Regions from separate parts of the Homo sapiens genome. Here region 2 is linked to region 1. The links are contacts of gene promoters, found by promoter capture Hi-C in blood cells and fetal thymus (Javierre and others, 2016). All regions are on one chromosome and are shown on one strand. Each heading gives the region's core, a stretch centred on a gene start or on the middle of the fragment in contact. The rest is flanking DNA. Distances are from core to core; before and after follow the strand shown. Region 1 holds the start of XKR3 (XK related 3). Region 2 has its middle 91 kb from the start of XKR3.

The links. The method cuts DNA at HindIII sites, captures the fragments that hold promoters and counts their contacts. A CHiCAGO score of 5 or more calls a contact.
Region 2: a contact is called between a fragment that was not itself captured here and the fragment with the promoter of XKR3 in region 1, in 2 of 17 cell types (naive B cells and total B cells). The highest score is 6.0, in naive B cells.

Annotation. Positions count from the first base shown.
Region 1 is chr22:16,823,234-16,830,245 of GRCh38, reverse strand. It overlaps XKR3 (XK related 3), which reads left to right and starts at 4,835. Exons shown (of 4, transcript NM_001386955.1): 1 at 4,835-4,955. It also overlaps the pseudogene HSFY1P1. The HindIII fragment of the contact is 7,309 bases long and covers 4,298-7,012 here.
Region 2 is chr22:16,912,647-16,920,042 of GRCh38, reverse strand. It overlaps the pseudogene IGKV2OR22-4. Among named protein-coding and RNA genes, the nearest start is that of XKR3, 91 kb to the right of the region's middle. RefSeq lists a silencer at 2,336-2,385. The HindIII fragment of the contact is 581 bases long and covers 3,077-3,657 here.

The DNA.
Region 1 (7,012 bases), core at 3,586-6,085:
CTATAAAATTCTACCATGTGCCTACAGTGATACAATCCATGAGTAAAATATGTGAAGTTTATTGCGCAAGTGAGGACACAAATAATTGTGATCATGGTTACTGAGCTCGCTAGGTATGAATTGTAATGAAGAAAATCTTTGCCAACTAAAATCCAAGTTTAAAATAACTGAGAAAAAGTGAGAAAATACTGAAGTATATAGTGTGTGTTAATGTTTCTCTAGATTTTCTGTGTGTGCGTGTGTGTGTGCATATCTATTCTTTTTGTGCCATTGTAATTTAGGCCCTCATTTGATTTATGCCAGACTACTTGAGAAGTCAGTTATTACTCTTTTCTAACTCCAATTCCTTCTTTTTCCCTTGCCTGCTGCCATGGTTTTGATATATAAACATATGTATGTGAATTAGCCAACGTTGACTGTGGACTTAGAAACCATAAAATCGTGAGTGTGCACCCTCATGGCGGGATTGATAGCATTATCTGGCGAACAGGCTAGTTATTGTGTGAGTGGGCTTTGGAACCAAGGATGAGTTTGGCCCTGATTTTCTGTTTATCACATGTCCTTTACCGTAGGATGGCCTCCTGCCATGTTGCAACATAGAAAGAAGATCTCACCAGATGCAGCCCCTTGGACTTTCCAGCCTTCAGAATAATGAGCAAAATAAGTCACCTTACAAATTACCCAGTCAGTGGTATTGTGTTGTCGCAGCAGCAAATGGACTAAAACACTCTATTATTTCTTCCTCTTTAGATAATTAAATAAACTAGCTTACAAAGGGCCATGTCAAATTTCCCATCAAATGATAAAAAAGCACATATTTTTTTTTAAATGCGGTACAGTAGCCTGCCACTAAAACAAAGCCCCATTTTACTCCTAACTGTATTTTTAGAAATAAAGGAAAAGCAACCATAAAGGTCAACATGTAATTTTATTGTTCAGTAAGATTATTGCAGGAATTTTTAATGTTCTTGTCAACATAAATTTCAGTCTCTGTTGTCATGCATAATCTGGTACTCTTTTGGTGGAAGATCAGTTGTAACTAGGGTGATATTTTTCCAGTAAAGATGGTTGAAGAGCTGGCCTGTAACGAAAGGCAACTGATGTATCAGCTGTCGCAGTCATTTACAACCACAGGTTGCCTGCTGGTAGCAGGTTAGAATGAGGAGCCTCATTGGCTAATACCTCAGGATATCTGGTGGGAAAAAGTAGGTGGTTTCACTATCAGCCCCAAAGGAGGGAGATATGATGTAGTATTGAGAAGCTGTGGTTGTAACAAAATTCACAACGTGGCCATTTGCTTACATGTCGGTGCTATGAGAGTGCATATGAATATTTGTCAATTGATTTAAAATAGCATGTTGATTTGTTGTAATTTGTTCTGATTGTCCAACTGAGGTTGAAATGGAAGAGGAGGGAAACCACTTCTAATTGGGTCAGGTGAACCAGCAATGCCCTGGCTGACAGAAGATTTCCTTGTTAGAGTCATATTTAAATTTGTAGATGTTGAAAATGAACTTTCTTCACTAGTTTCAGCAGCTAAGACAGAATTATGTTTATCTGTGTTAGCCCCTGCTCTAAAGTGTTTCTTGAAATATTCAGTGAAGTAGATACAAGAGAAGTGTTTTTAATCTTAATTCTTCTTTTCGTTCTTATTAAAAGTTGGGGACAGCCACGTTTGAAATTCGGATGATAATACAACTTTAACTAAAACCAAGGAGAAGGTAATTCAGTGCCATTTTAAACCAAGAGGCAAGTAACAATAACAAACATAACCCATACAATCTCAGATTTCTGTTTTATCACACAAAGTTAATATCATCAAATAATGAATGAACATTGTTTACTATTTTTAAGAACATGCTTGTTGAGAAAAAAAAACACTCAAGTTTTGAAGCCCTCTGGTGAAAACATGTTATACATTTAATAGTAACATTTCACTAAGTGGCTTTGGTATCTTTATTTGGAGTTCACTGGTAAGACTGAATGTTGTTAGCAACATTTCTTAAAACCTGAAAGTTTAATGCTCAACCTGCACTCAATAATTTCAAAAAAATTAAGTAATTTTTACCTTAATATTTGATATAATTTTTAAAATCTGATCTTACTGCATGTATTAACATAGTTACTGATATATAAAATGAAATTACATATATACTCAAAGTGGTAACTGAAATATTTTGAATACCTTGCTTAAAACAGAAATTTCTTTTTCTTCTGCCAGAAAGTTGGCTAGAAAAGCAGATCTGTGAAAATTCTGTTGAATTTTACTAAATCCATAAAGGTTGAGCTGTCAAATTAAGATTTTCATACTGTCAGTTTGAAATATTCTGTAAGGAGCCTTTATTTCCAAATTTTCTTTCTTGAAGAGTTCTTCATTAGTCACTATGCAAGTTTCATTCTTATCCTATGAATTAGACTTGAATTGGTCACTTTCAGCTATTTTCCAAAGTTTACTGGGAAAGGTCAGAGAAGGAAAATCATTATCTTTATCTGGCTCAGAGACATAAAGTATAATGTGGCCTTTTTATCAAGGATCCTTGTGGCAAAACCTGAAAATCATTGATTCAGTCATTGACCTTAAGTCTGAATCCCCAGGGATTATGTGTTCACACAATGGAGACCCAGAGGAGGCTTTTGAACCAGTTGATTCATCTTTAGGAGAAACATCTTGAGTTTCTGCAGAAACATGTGCCATCTCAAATAAGTAATTCTTTAGCGACTTTTCCAGCCTGCATGTGTTTCAAGACTGCAGCTTCAAATGCTGCTTCAGTAGTCTACTCAGGTAAAGTAATTGAGATCACCACAGTGGTTTCCAACCTGAGTAGCAATGGCATCACAAGAGGACTTTGGTCACCTAGCAACAAACATAAAAATTTGGCCAAGACTGTTTACTTTCCAGTCTCAGAAATGTATCTGGTAAAAATAAAATATAGAATGATTACTTACACAGTTTATTCTGCAAAAGTTTCATGCCTGCAGAATCTTTTAAATTAATAAGGAGGGCCAGGCATGGTGGCTCATGCCTGCAATCCCAGCGCTTTGGGAGGCCGGGACAGGCGGATCATGAGGTCATGAGTTCGAGACCAGCCTGACCACCATGGTGACACCCTGTCTCTACTAAAAATACAAAAATTAGCCAGGTGTGGTCCATGTGCCTGTAGTCCCAGGTCTCGGGAGGCTGAGGCAGAAGAATCGTTTGAACCCAGGAGGCGGAAGCTGCAGTGAGCTGAGATTGTGCCACTGCACTCCAGCCTGGGCAACAGAGCAAGACTCTGTCTTAAGAAAATAATAAATAAATAAATAAATAAATAAATAAATAAATTAATTAATATCCTCAATCCCTGAAATAAACATAATTTTCTCCTTGACACACACAGTCTTACTAGATTGGTGCGAGGAGCATAGGGCCTGGTAATTGGACGGTGCAAAAAAATAAAAATAAATATTTTAAAAACTCTCTCAGCTTGGCATGTTGGATTGAAAACTGATGCAGTGTAAAACATATATGGTAAAAAGACATGGCCATATAGACAAAAGGTAGGTTAATGGTTGTCAGGGGCTGGGGAATAGAAAGAACTGTTAAGTAGATAATGGGGTTTCCTGTTTGATGATAGAAATGTTTTAATAATATAATTTTGAATAATGTAATTTTGTATTATGTGAAACATACCTTAAAAAATTAAAATAAAATCAAATATGAATAAAACTGATTAGATTTCAGAATAAAAAGTTATTCATGTATGTATCTATTCAAAACATTTTTTATTCATATCATAGAATAAATAATACTTTCATTTGGTATGTCTGTAAATATCTGACATGTTAATTATGTAAGATTTTAAAAGCAAGTGACCTACTTATAAGGAGATCCCAAAGAGTGGGAGATTTAAAAATGTAATAATAACAAGAAAGTGTTTTAAGTAAAGTAAATTTGTATGTATGTCTAAGCAGAAAATTTTATTATTTGGTTCCAAGAGCCAAATATCTATTTAAAAAATATTTCTTAAGGAATAATCTCTGTGTCCTGCAACGTAAAGTTATCATTATAAAACAGGAGTCAAATTTGTGAATTAATCTTAGAATTGAATAAAATATTTCTTCTCTTTGAAAAATAATCATGCCCCATTTACAGTAAGAATTTTTATATGTTCATGCTTGAGAGGTGGTATATTAAAATTCTAATGCCTTGGCTTTAAGTGTTGAATATGTGTGGAATAAAAAAATAATGATTTTGATATTTCTTATACTGTAGGAGGCAGTTCTCTCATACTGGAAAGAGGTGTCATTGTTAGAAGCTTGTCTTGGTTTAACATAGTTTAAGTTTTGGGGGTGTATTTTGTTTAGTTCAAAATTTTCCATATTAGCAGTAAGTAACAAAAATGTCCAGATCAGAAAACTCTTTGTGAAAATAAAACAGGTGCTCCTACCAGATGTGGTTCATCAATTTTGACAGAATTTTCATTTAAAAAAGGCAAAATTAAAATTTGTTTAATTGTTTGCTTTCTGGGGAATTTTCTTGTTGCTCTGTCTGAAGGAAGTACAGACTTCTTTTGTGATGGGAGGGGATGAATGGCTACTAGACAGCAGCAAAAGATGGGCCATGGGTGCGAAGAGAAGAGGGAGTTAATGGGAGAATCAGAAAAATATCACCTTAAATGTAGGACAATCGAAGTCAAATTGTGGCTGAGCGTTTTGGGGAACTAAGATGTGTGACTCTGTAGGGAGGAAGAATGCCTTGGTGTTTTCAAGGGAAGATGACTCAGCTAGTGCAGTCACCTGACTCCAAACTGCAAGCCTACTTTAGTCATAAAAAGGCAAGAAAATAAGCAATTTTACCTGCAAAGCAAAGGACGTAGTGTTGAAAACGAGACCAGAAATGGTGCTGTTAAAGAGGTGAACAAAAGCATTTACTTTTTGAACGAGTTTCAAAACTGTGAGGGTGGCAAATAGGCAAGGTAAGTAGGAGCAGCCCTCGACCATCTCAGATCAGCTTCTTCAGCCTACCTTGACCTCTGCCTGTCTCAGCTGGGGATCTTAACATAAATCTCTGGATATCAGGGGTGGCTTTTCCCGAGTCTTGAGCCTAGAAACTCCCTCTCTTGATTCTGATTTTCAGAGAAGAGAAGCAGCTGCTTAGCATTTGGGTGGGACAGTGGTTGTTACTAATATATTACAAATTTCAGCATGTTTTTAAACATCAGAAGGAGAAAGTGCTTCGTATTTAAGTGAAATCTCAAAGGGGCAGAAATCTACCATATTTTTTGTTATTCAGATGCAGTGATGCACTGGCTATGTGAGTACAAGAAACAAGTTCACTTAATCACAAACACATGCCTAAATTCCATTGTTCAGTGACTTCACTTTCACTTTCTACCTTGAATTTTAGACTCTGGAAGACCCATTTCTAAACTCTGTGGCCCTTTTCATATGTGCATATTTTCATAAGTGTTTTCCAGAAATAAATTATAGAGGTCCTTCTGTGAGTCCAAAGGAGAAGGAAGTGGTTGGGGCAGCCAGAAAGGTGCAATCTGCATTAATATCATATTCGATGTATGGATTGCTGGGGAGAGAGTGGGATATATTTCTTATAATGTTGGATGTATTTTTCCCCTATCCTGAGGCCCAGAAACTCTGATGTCTCTGCAGTTGTCTTTCCATGCTTTCCTTTATACCCCTCGCCTACTTCTGTAATTTCTCTCTCTACTCTCCCTCCTCCTTCCCACCCTTTTTCTTTCCATTTGTGCTCTCTCCCTCCATTCCTTCTTTTTCCCTTTTCTTTCTTTTTGTGGGTATCTGGTAGCTGCAACTTATTTTCTTTCTGCTTTTCTTACTCACTTACTCTATTTACTAGGTATTTAACAATTGTCTTTAAAAGTAACATCCTTTCTTTCTTAAAATTTTATCCCTAATGGACATTATTTGGGGAAAAACATTTTTATGGTGCCTCTAGATAAGTAATTATATCATCTGCACATGATTCCCGTATTTTCTTACATGCCCGTTCCTCGTAGGTGGAAATGGGTACTTCATTGTACTCTTCTCTCTTTATTTACAAGAGTGTTTTTTCTGTCTCATCCCTTTAAATAACACATTGTCTCTCTTTTTGTGACATTGAATTAATTAGGTCAGATGCGATTTTTCTCATCTATTCATTTGAAGACTGTTTCATATTGCTTCTAGGGCCTATTTGCAAGCAACAAATTATTTTGTTGTTGTTGTTGTTTTGTTTTGTTTTTTAATTTTTGGACCATTTGTCTCATCACTCCAACAAGCAAGAATTAGTTCTCATCATTAAGATCCCTTCAAGATTTCATTCACTTGTTTCAGCAGCCTTGAATTATCATCACCTGGACCTGTTGTTACATCAAGAATCTCTCATTTCTAATGTTCTACTTTGGACACTGTTACCTGTGAGTTTGTTTACATTAAAAAAAAAAAACCTTTTAGTACTTGAGTACCCTAAAGTTTCATATTTTGAATTGGTGTCAGATTTATTATTATTGATCTCTCCATTGCTGGAGAAAACTAAGCAATAGGTAAACTCTATTCTTTTGGTAATTTGTATTTTCTGAATGTTTCACAGTAAATGTTTACTAGTCTTGTGATGCTGCAAATTGGCAATCAGATATATTTTAAAGTGACAAGGTTGCCCTGTTCATCACCAGTTCTGTACATCACGCAGATCAAAAGTAAGGTGTTTAAGTTTATTTTAAATGTTTTTCCCAAAAATTCTGCTTCCACCACTTTTCCAAGCTCTACCAGATGGATACTCAAGAATTGACCAAGGCAATCTCTTCTCTCATATTTCACTGTCAAATACTCTTAATCAGTGAGTCCTGTCAATTCTGTGTTTCTAAGAAATGATGATGGTGGTCATGATTATAATGATGTCAATAGGAACACCTTTCCAAACTTCACTGTGTACCACGAACTCTTCTTCCTGCTGCCGATGTATTATTTTCTCTACACTGCTATCTCCCCAGGAAGATTCTAATGATGTTATCATTGTACA
Region 2 (7,396 bases), core at 2,118-4,617, 91 kb before region 1:
GATGCAGGCTAAGGGCTTAAATTATACTTGAGATGATTTATTTTAAGATAATGGATTCGGCCGGGCGCGGTGGCTCACGCCTGTAATCCCAGCACTTTGGGAGGCCGAGGCGGGTGGATCATGAGGTCAGGAGATCGAGACCATCCTGGCTAACAAGGTGAAACCCCGTCCCTACTAAAAATACAAAAAATTAGCCGGGCGCAGTGGCGGGCGCCTGTAGTCCCAGCTACTCAGGAGGCTGAGGCAGGAGAATGGCGTGAACCCGGGAAGCGGAGCTTGCAGTGAGCCGAGATTGCACCACTGCAGTCCGCAGTCCGGCCTGGGCGACAGAGCGAGACTCCGTCTCAAAAAAAAAAAAAAAAAAAGATAATGGATTCCGTAGTAAGTACAATTAAAATTCCAATGTGTCATTTCTGTTATGTTTAAAAGTTGCATGGCAAAATGTATATAGATATTTATCAGGTCATAGCCCAGGTGGCATCTGCAAACCCGGAAGAAGGTCTTTACCAGAAAGCGAACCCTGCTGGACATTGATCTGGGCACCAAAAATGTGAAACATGAAAATTAAATTCTGTGGTTTATGTCATCCAGATCAGTGTTTTTGGTGTGGCAGCGCAAGCTGACTATCCACCTTCCCCACCCTCTGTGAGCAGGAGCAGCCTTAGGAGGCCCTCATGGAGGCGGGGACCCAGCTTTGCTCCTCTTCCTCCTGCTTTTCCAACTCTCTGGTGAGGAGGGAGAACTCAGGCTTCATCTGCAGTTCCTGTGCATTAAACATGAATGTTTCCTTCAGGATGAAGTTTTTAGCCCATTTTGCTTTCTCATCAGAATTTAATCGGACATGAAAGTTAAGGATTATGAAATGGGCAGATCATCCTGTATTGACCAGATGGGCCCTGGTCCAGGTGGGTCAATAAAAAGGCTTTGTTAAAATGTCTGCCTATCTCTATCTTATAAGGACATCACGATTGTCCTTATAAGATAGATAGGCAGACATTTAACAAAGACTGCAGAAGAGAAGGTGATTTGAAGACAGAGACAGAGATTGAAGTGACGTGGACACAGAATGCTCAGGAAGGAAAGAGAATCATTGCTTCCCTTTCTGCAGTTTGTTGGTAGGTGAGGTGGGCCCTGCAGAAAGATTAGCAAGCACAGAGGAAAAACTCACCACTTATTCCCACAGCTGTGTATATAGTTTTATAGGATTTCTAAACATTTTTTCCAAGGAAAAGTAAAGAACAATAACTCAAATATTTGGAAACAGGGTCAGCTTAGACAGGTCTAGAACACGGTCTGAAGGTACAACATATGAACAACCCTGTTTCTTCCAGTGCCGGAGAGATGAATTCTCAGAAGCAGAAGATACACATTCATGAAGCCTTCATTCCCTGAGCTGTCTGTGTTCCAGAATATTTATCTGTGAATATATTCTCCAGTGAGTGACAATTTACAGTTAGTGAGATAATGCAGACAGCTTCAACCCCCGGTGCCTTGCAGCCAGGAATCCAGTCACAGGACCTGCAGCTTCACGAAGGGATGCTCAGTGGGTGGCTTGCATGCAAAGATAAACTCTCCCCTTTAACAAAAAGAACCTTCATTGTGCCCCAAGTGGGGAACAGGCCTCTGTGTTACTCAACCTCATCCATGGTAGTGTTGGTTTGGAAAATATGGACTAATGCCGTCTGTAGAACAAAGTCTACAGAATTAGAAACAGTGACATAGAAATGAGCTAAAGATGGCCTGTGGGTCCTGGCCCCCATGTTGTTTATTTCAAAACTGTGTTTACTTCTTTTTTTTTTGAGACGGAGTCTCACTCTGTCAACCAGGCTGGAGTGCAATGGCGTGATCTTGGCTCAATGCAACCTCCGCCTCACGGGTTCAAGCAATTCTCCTGCCTCAGCCTCCCGAGTAGCTGGGACTACAGGCACGTGCCACCATGCCAAGCTAATTTTTGTATTTTTAGTAGAGACGCGGTTTCACCATGTTGGTCAGGCTGGTCTCCAACTCCTGACCTTGTGATCCGCACACCTTGGCCTCCCAAAGTGCTGGGATTACAGGCGTGAGCCACCGGGCCCGGCCAAAACTGTGTTTACTTCCTAATGGCCTGTTCCAAACTCAAATTTTACAATGCAATTATTTTAACAACAGCCCAAAGAAGAATACTTTTAGCCTTTTAGAAAATACTTACTTTGCATGTCCAGAAAATTTCAACCACATCTACTCGCAGTAAGATAAACCCCAGTTATGAAAACCTTAAACCAGAAACTCCCCACTGTGCTGCTGTGAGGCGTCCCCTAGACACACAGCCCCTTGTCCAGTGTCCCATCGTTTCGAGAAGCAAGCCTGGCAGCTTATTCTCTGCACAGATTCCTGCTGGGAGGGGCTTCTCTCTGCAAACCTGACAAAACGTCACCCAATAAAGTCATGTGTGCGACTGCCCCCCTGTGGCCATCTCTTTTTCCTTGATGAGCCCGCAAGTCATTCCAATCCCGTACAAATCGGATCACAGTGTCCACCCCAAACACTGACTCCAGGGTCATGAACACAAACAGTTCCACTTCTAAGACTCTTGCCAAGTCTTACGAATAATGCAGTTGCTCCCAGTTTTATGGACCCCAAACTAACCGCATCAGGAAAAGGAGACACAGCCATAATAAACCCCACCTGTATAAGTCCTCCCTCATTCAGGTGACCATGGTTCATGTTAGAGACACTCAGAGGCAGAGGCCTGCCGCACACCTAGATCCGAATGGAGGTGGTTGTGACACCTTCTGATCTGTGTCCACTGTGGAGTGACCAGCTTTGTCTGCTGTTGTGAAAGCCTTGGCATAATGTGTCAACAGATAAGAAAGGGAGGTTTCTAATCAGAATTAGTAATATTATCCTTTAAGTCTATAGGTAATAAAGAGTAATTTCAAAGCTCTTTTCTGACTAAAAAAGATTTCTACAAAATTTCACAATTTATATTTATGTACAGCAACAGATCATGAGATTTTTAAAAATCACAATGGTAACCTTCTTAACGATGTATTACTAAGTTTCATAGGAAATAGCAAGACTATCTTAAATTCAAGCTTCTTAAGGAATACTTTGCAAAAACAACATTTTCAAGAATTGACCTTTAGTAAAAGAAAACCTGACAAATTTTTTTATTGTTAGTCACTTCCCTGCAATTCAAGTTTGTTTTTAATTATAGATAGAACTGATTCCTCATTTAATACCCTTTCAGAATAATTATTTAAAACTTACAATATGATGCACCATCTCGTTCTACTTTAGTTAGGCTGATTGTGTTTTCTTTTTCTTTTCCTTCAGCCTCTGATGTTTCTATTGTTCACTAGTATGATTATTTAGGAGTCTCACTTTTTGAAGAATAAGAAGCAGGTTTGAATTGGTTAATAACATAAGAAAAAGTCAAGTGCACAAAAGTTACGAAATTTAATGAGAAAAGAGTAAATAAAATTGACATAGTTTTCTACAGTTTACTGTGAGCCTTTAATCAAATTTCTTAAGCACAATTTGATCTCCTTAACCCCCATTATTGCAATGGTGTTAAACATTGAAAGGTCTATAATATTATTTTTATTCAATTATCTTTTCCAATCTTGGAAAAAAGGTTATTTTGGTAGATTTCTCAGAAGATATTGAAACCAAGCTTTCTTCTGGAATCTTACCTAGAATTTCATGTATTTGTGTTCTTGGGCAATTAAATATAAATTTTTGTTAAATTACCCAAGATTACATAGCACTACAAGCTAGTCTTTCAGTTGTAGCTGAATTTTTTTTTCCCAGAAATGTGACTGTCTTTGTGATAGTGTTTGGTGTTGGCAGAATTATTCAGGAGCTGTTCAATTAAATACTAAGCACACCACGAACAAATCAAGAAACATGAGATTGTTTCCCTTTGTAATGATCAGCTGTGTGAAAGACTCACACCCCTGAACCATGTGCATCTTTACATGAAACCATGAAAATGTCAGTTACAGGTCCAGGTTACCCTGAGACATAAAACTGTAGATGCAGTCCTTGCTCTTCTCACATAGACAATTTCCTTTTCAACTGCAGACTCATGGCTGTGGCTGCACCACATCCAGGCTGGGGGTGACTCAGGTCTCACTCAGGGTTGGCCATAACCTGGAAGCCCTCACAGGACCTGATGCCACATGACCAGGGAGGCTGTGTGAGAAGAGTTTTCGTAAGCACCACTCAGAAAAACATCATGCAATGTTATTTCTTATTTGCTTTGTATCATTAACCAAGGAAATTCTTCCCTATGAGATCCTGCTGGTTAATCTTGTATATGTGAGATGATTATGATGCGATTATCCCAGATTGAACAGTTGGTCACCAGGAATTTTGTATTCACTGCCTGAGGTGTAACATTCTTGCCCCATTGCCTCTTACTTATGCTGGGCTCTTGGCTCTAAATGTAGAGACCCACATCATTCTCCCTGTGAGGCCCTTGGACGGAGCGCTTTTTTGGGGCTCACTCATCAGGTGCCAGGGACGGGGAGATTCTAACACTTGCACTGAATAATATTGAACAGTTATCCTGGAAACAGCACATACGAGGCAACACTTGAACTGGCTCAGGAGCACTTTTCATTTGCAGGCCCTCTGCCCGTCTGTGCTTGTGGGAATGGGGCTGTTTTCTTTCTCTAGATTGATTGGGAGGGAGGCCTGCAGGATGGCATTCACCTCCCAAAGATGCATCCTAGAAACACATTTCCACGTTGTCAGGGTCCTTGTGCGTTCTCAGTGTGGCATGCACTGCACAATGTGTCCCTGCCCAAGGTCCCAACTTCCACAGTCAGAGCCTTCTTCCCTTGACCACAGGCAAACTTGACTTGAACTACATTTGTTTGGCTCCAGCAAACATTTTATGTCACATTGTTCACAGAAGAGACATTCCCCCTGCCCCATCAACCTTTTCCACACCACTGCACCCACCAGGTGATTTGCATGTTGTCCCTTAGGGAGGACCTTCCCTTGTGAGTCTGAGATAAAAGCTCAGCTCTAACCTTGCCTTGACTGATCAGGACTCCTCAGTTCACCTTCTCACAATGAGGCTCCCTGCTCAGCTCCTGGGGCTGCTAATGCTCTGGGTCTCTGGTAAGGATAGGATCAAAAGTGAGGTGAGAAAATGGGGTGGGAGGGTGAGATCTGGGGTCTCCACAGCTTCCTATTTTTATTTCAACCATGTGTTACGGGCACATGGTCTGTGCTCCGGGAAAGATTACTCGTATTTTTTGTCTCAGGAATAGTCAGGAATCATCTCCCAGGAAAAATGACCAGTGCTCTGATTAAGCTCTTGAAAATAAACTGCTCCCTGCTGGCTAGTAACAAATTGGTTCATTTTAGAAAGTCTACTTTTCATGATAAAAATCAAAACTTGAAAAAATATGTAACTCTAAATCAAAATCTTAAGGAAAATCATGAAAGTTGCTCAAAATGTGTTTATATAACCTTGCACTTCTCTGTTATTATTTCAGGATCCAGTGGGGACATTGTGATGACCCAGACTCCACTCTCCCTGCCTGTCACTCCTGGAGAGCCAGCCTCCATCTCCTGCAGATCTAGTGAGAGCCTCTTGGATACTGATGATGAATACACCTATTTGAATTGGTACCTGCAGAAGCCAGGCCAGTCTCCACAGCTCCTGATCTATGAGGTTTCCAACCGGGCCTCTGGAGTTCCAGACAGGTTCAGTGGCAGTGGGTCAGGCACTGATTTCACTCTGAAAATCAGTAGGGTGGAGGCTTAGGATGTTGGGGTTTATTACTGCATGCAAGCTCTACAAACTCCGCCCACAGTGCTACATCCTCGAACAGAAACCTCCCTGCTGGGTTGACCCAGCTGCCCGCATGGGCTGCTTGTCTGAGGGAACAGCTGAGCAGAGTCTTTGAGTCTGCAGAGGAGAAGGCTGTTGGGGATGTCAGGGCAAGGTTTGCTGCTGAGGACGCTGGTCCATGACAGCCTCAGTAGCACCTCAGATTTCATATGTTAAGGCCCCACCAGCAGTCACAGCCTGGGGAAGGCATCAGGAGGAGGAGAATTCATGGGGGCTACGTGCCCTGGGAGCAACCAGCTATGATGAAGGGAGAGTGAATGAAAGCTCACATCCTCACCCTCCCTGTCTTGCCCACATTTGTCAAGTTCATGTAACTGTCAGAATAACCAGACCATGGATGCAGTTTAGTGACAACACAAGTAGAACACATATGGGAAATGACCATCTTGGGGTTTATTTCACACGCGATGACACTTAGTCATATTGGGAAATTCATACTCTCCCATCTTCCTAATTCTGCTCTCTGACTCCCACCAAACCGTCTCTCCAGTGTCTTACAGGTAGAAGCATTCTACACAAGCTGTGTGCAGGGGAGTACAGCTAACACTTAGAAAAAATGTTTGATGTTGGATTATTCAAATAGACTTTGTAAACTCATGGCAGGTATGAGATCTTAATGTTAAAAGATTGATTACTCTTAATTATTATTTGCCAAGTGAAAGCAGAGTTTTCACAATTCCAAAAGTGGCCTTTGAAAATAAACTGCAGGAACTCAAAGATGGAAAATATAAAGTTTATTTCAAGTAAAAAAGGGAACATTCAGAATTATGTGAGATTTTTATTTCTTTTCCAAATTCTAAAGGTTTTGAAAGTATTTAGGCTAAGTTCTATTTTAGAGTAGAAATGTATTACTATGTTTTCAAAAGAAAAGGTTTCAAAAAATACAGAAATGCATTCTTTTCACATGATTATATCATTACCTGAAAATGAATCTGAATTCAATGTTTTAGTTGTAAATGCCTGGAGCATCTATGCTTTTCATAGATTTTATTAAATATAGTGTTCTAAATGATATTGAACCCAATAATGAGTCACATGAGGTACATATAATTACACTGTGTGATAGACACAAAATAATGACAGAATCAACAGAAGAAGTTCTGCTTCAGGCTAAGGGTAGAAAGTACACTAGGATGATTGTTTATTCCAATATAACAAATTTCATGGTAAGTGCAATTAAAATTCCAAAGTTCCACTTCTGTTACGTTTAAAAATTGTATGGCAATATTTTTATAGATATCAATCACACTGGAGCCTGCAAATGAAAAAAAAAAGTGACACCATATATTTTTAAAATACTGATAAATGAATCGTTGATCTCAAGAGTCATTATACAGAATTCAGTTAAGGAATACAAAGTGTATCGGGGCGTGGTGGCTCATGCCTGTAATCCCAACACTTTGGGAGGTCAAGATGGGCTAATACCCTGAGATCAGGAGTTCAAGACCAGCCTGGCCAACATGGTGAAACCCTGTCTCTACTAAAAATACAAAAATTAGCCAGGTGTGGTGGCATGTGCCTGTGATTCCAGCTACTCGGGAGGCT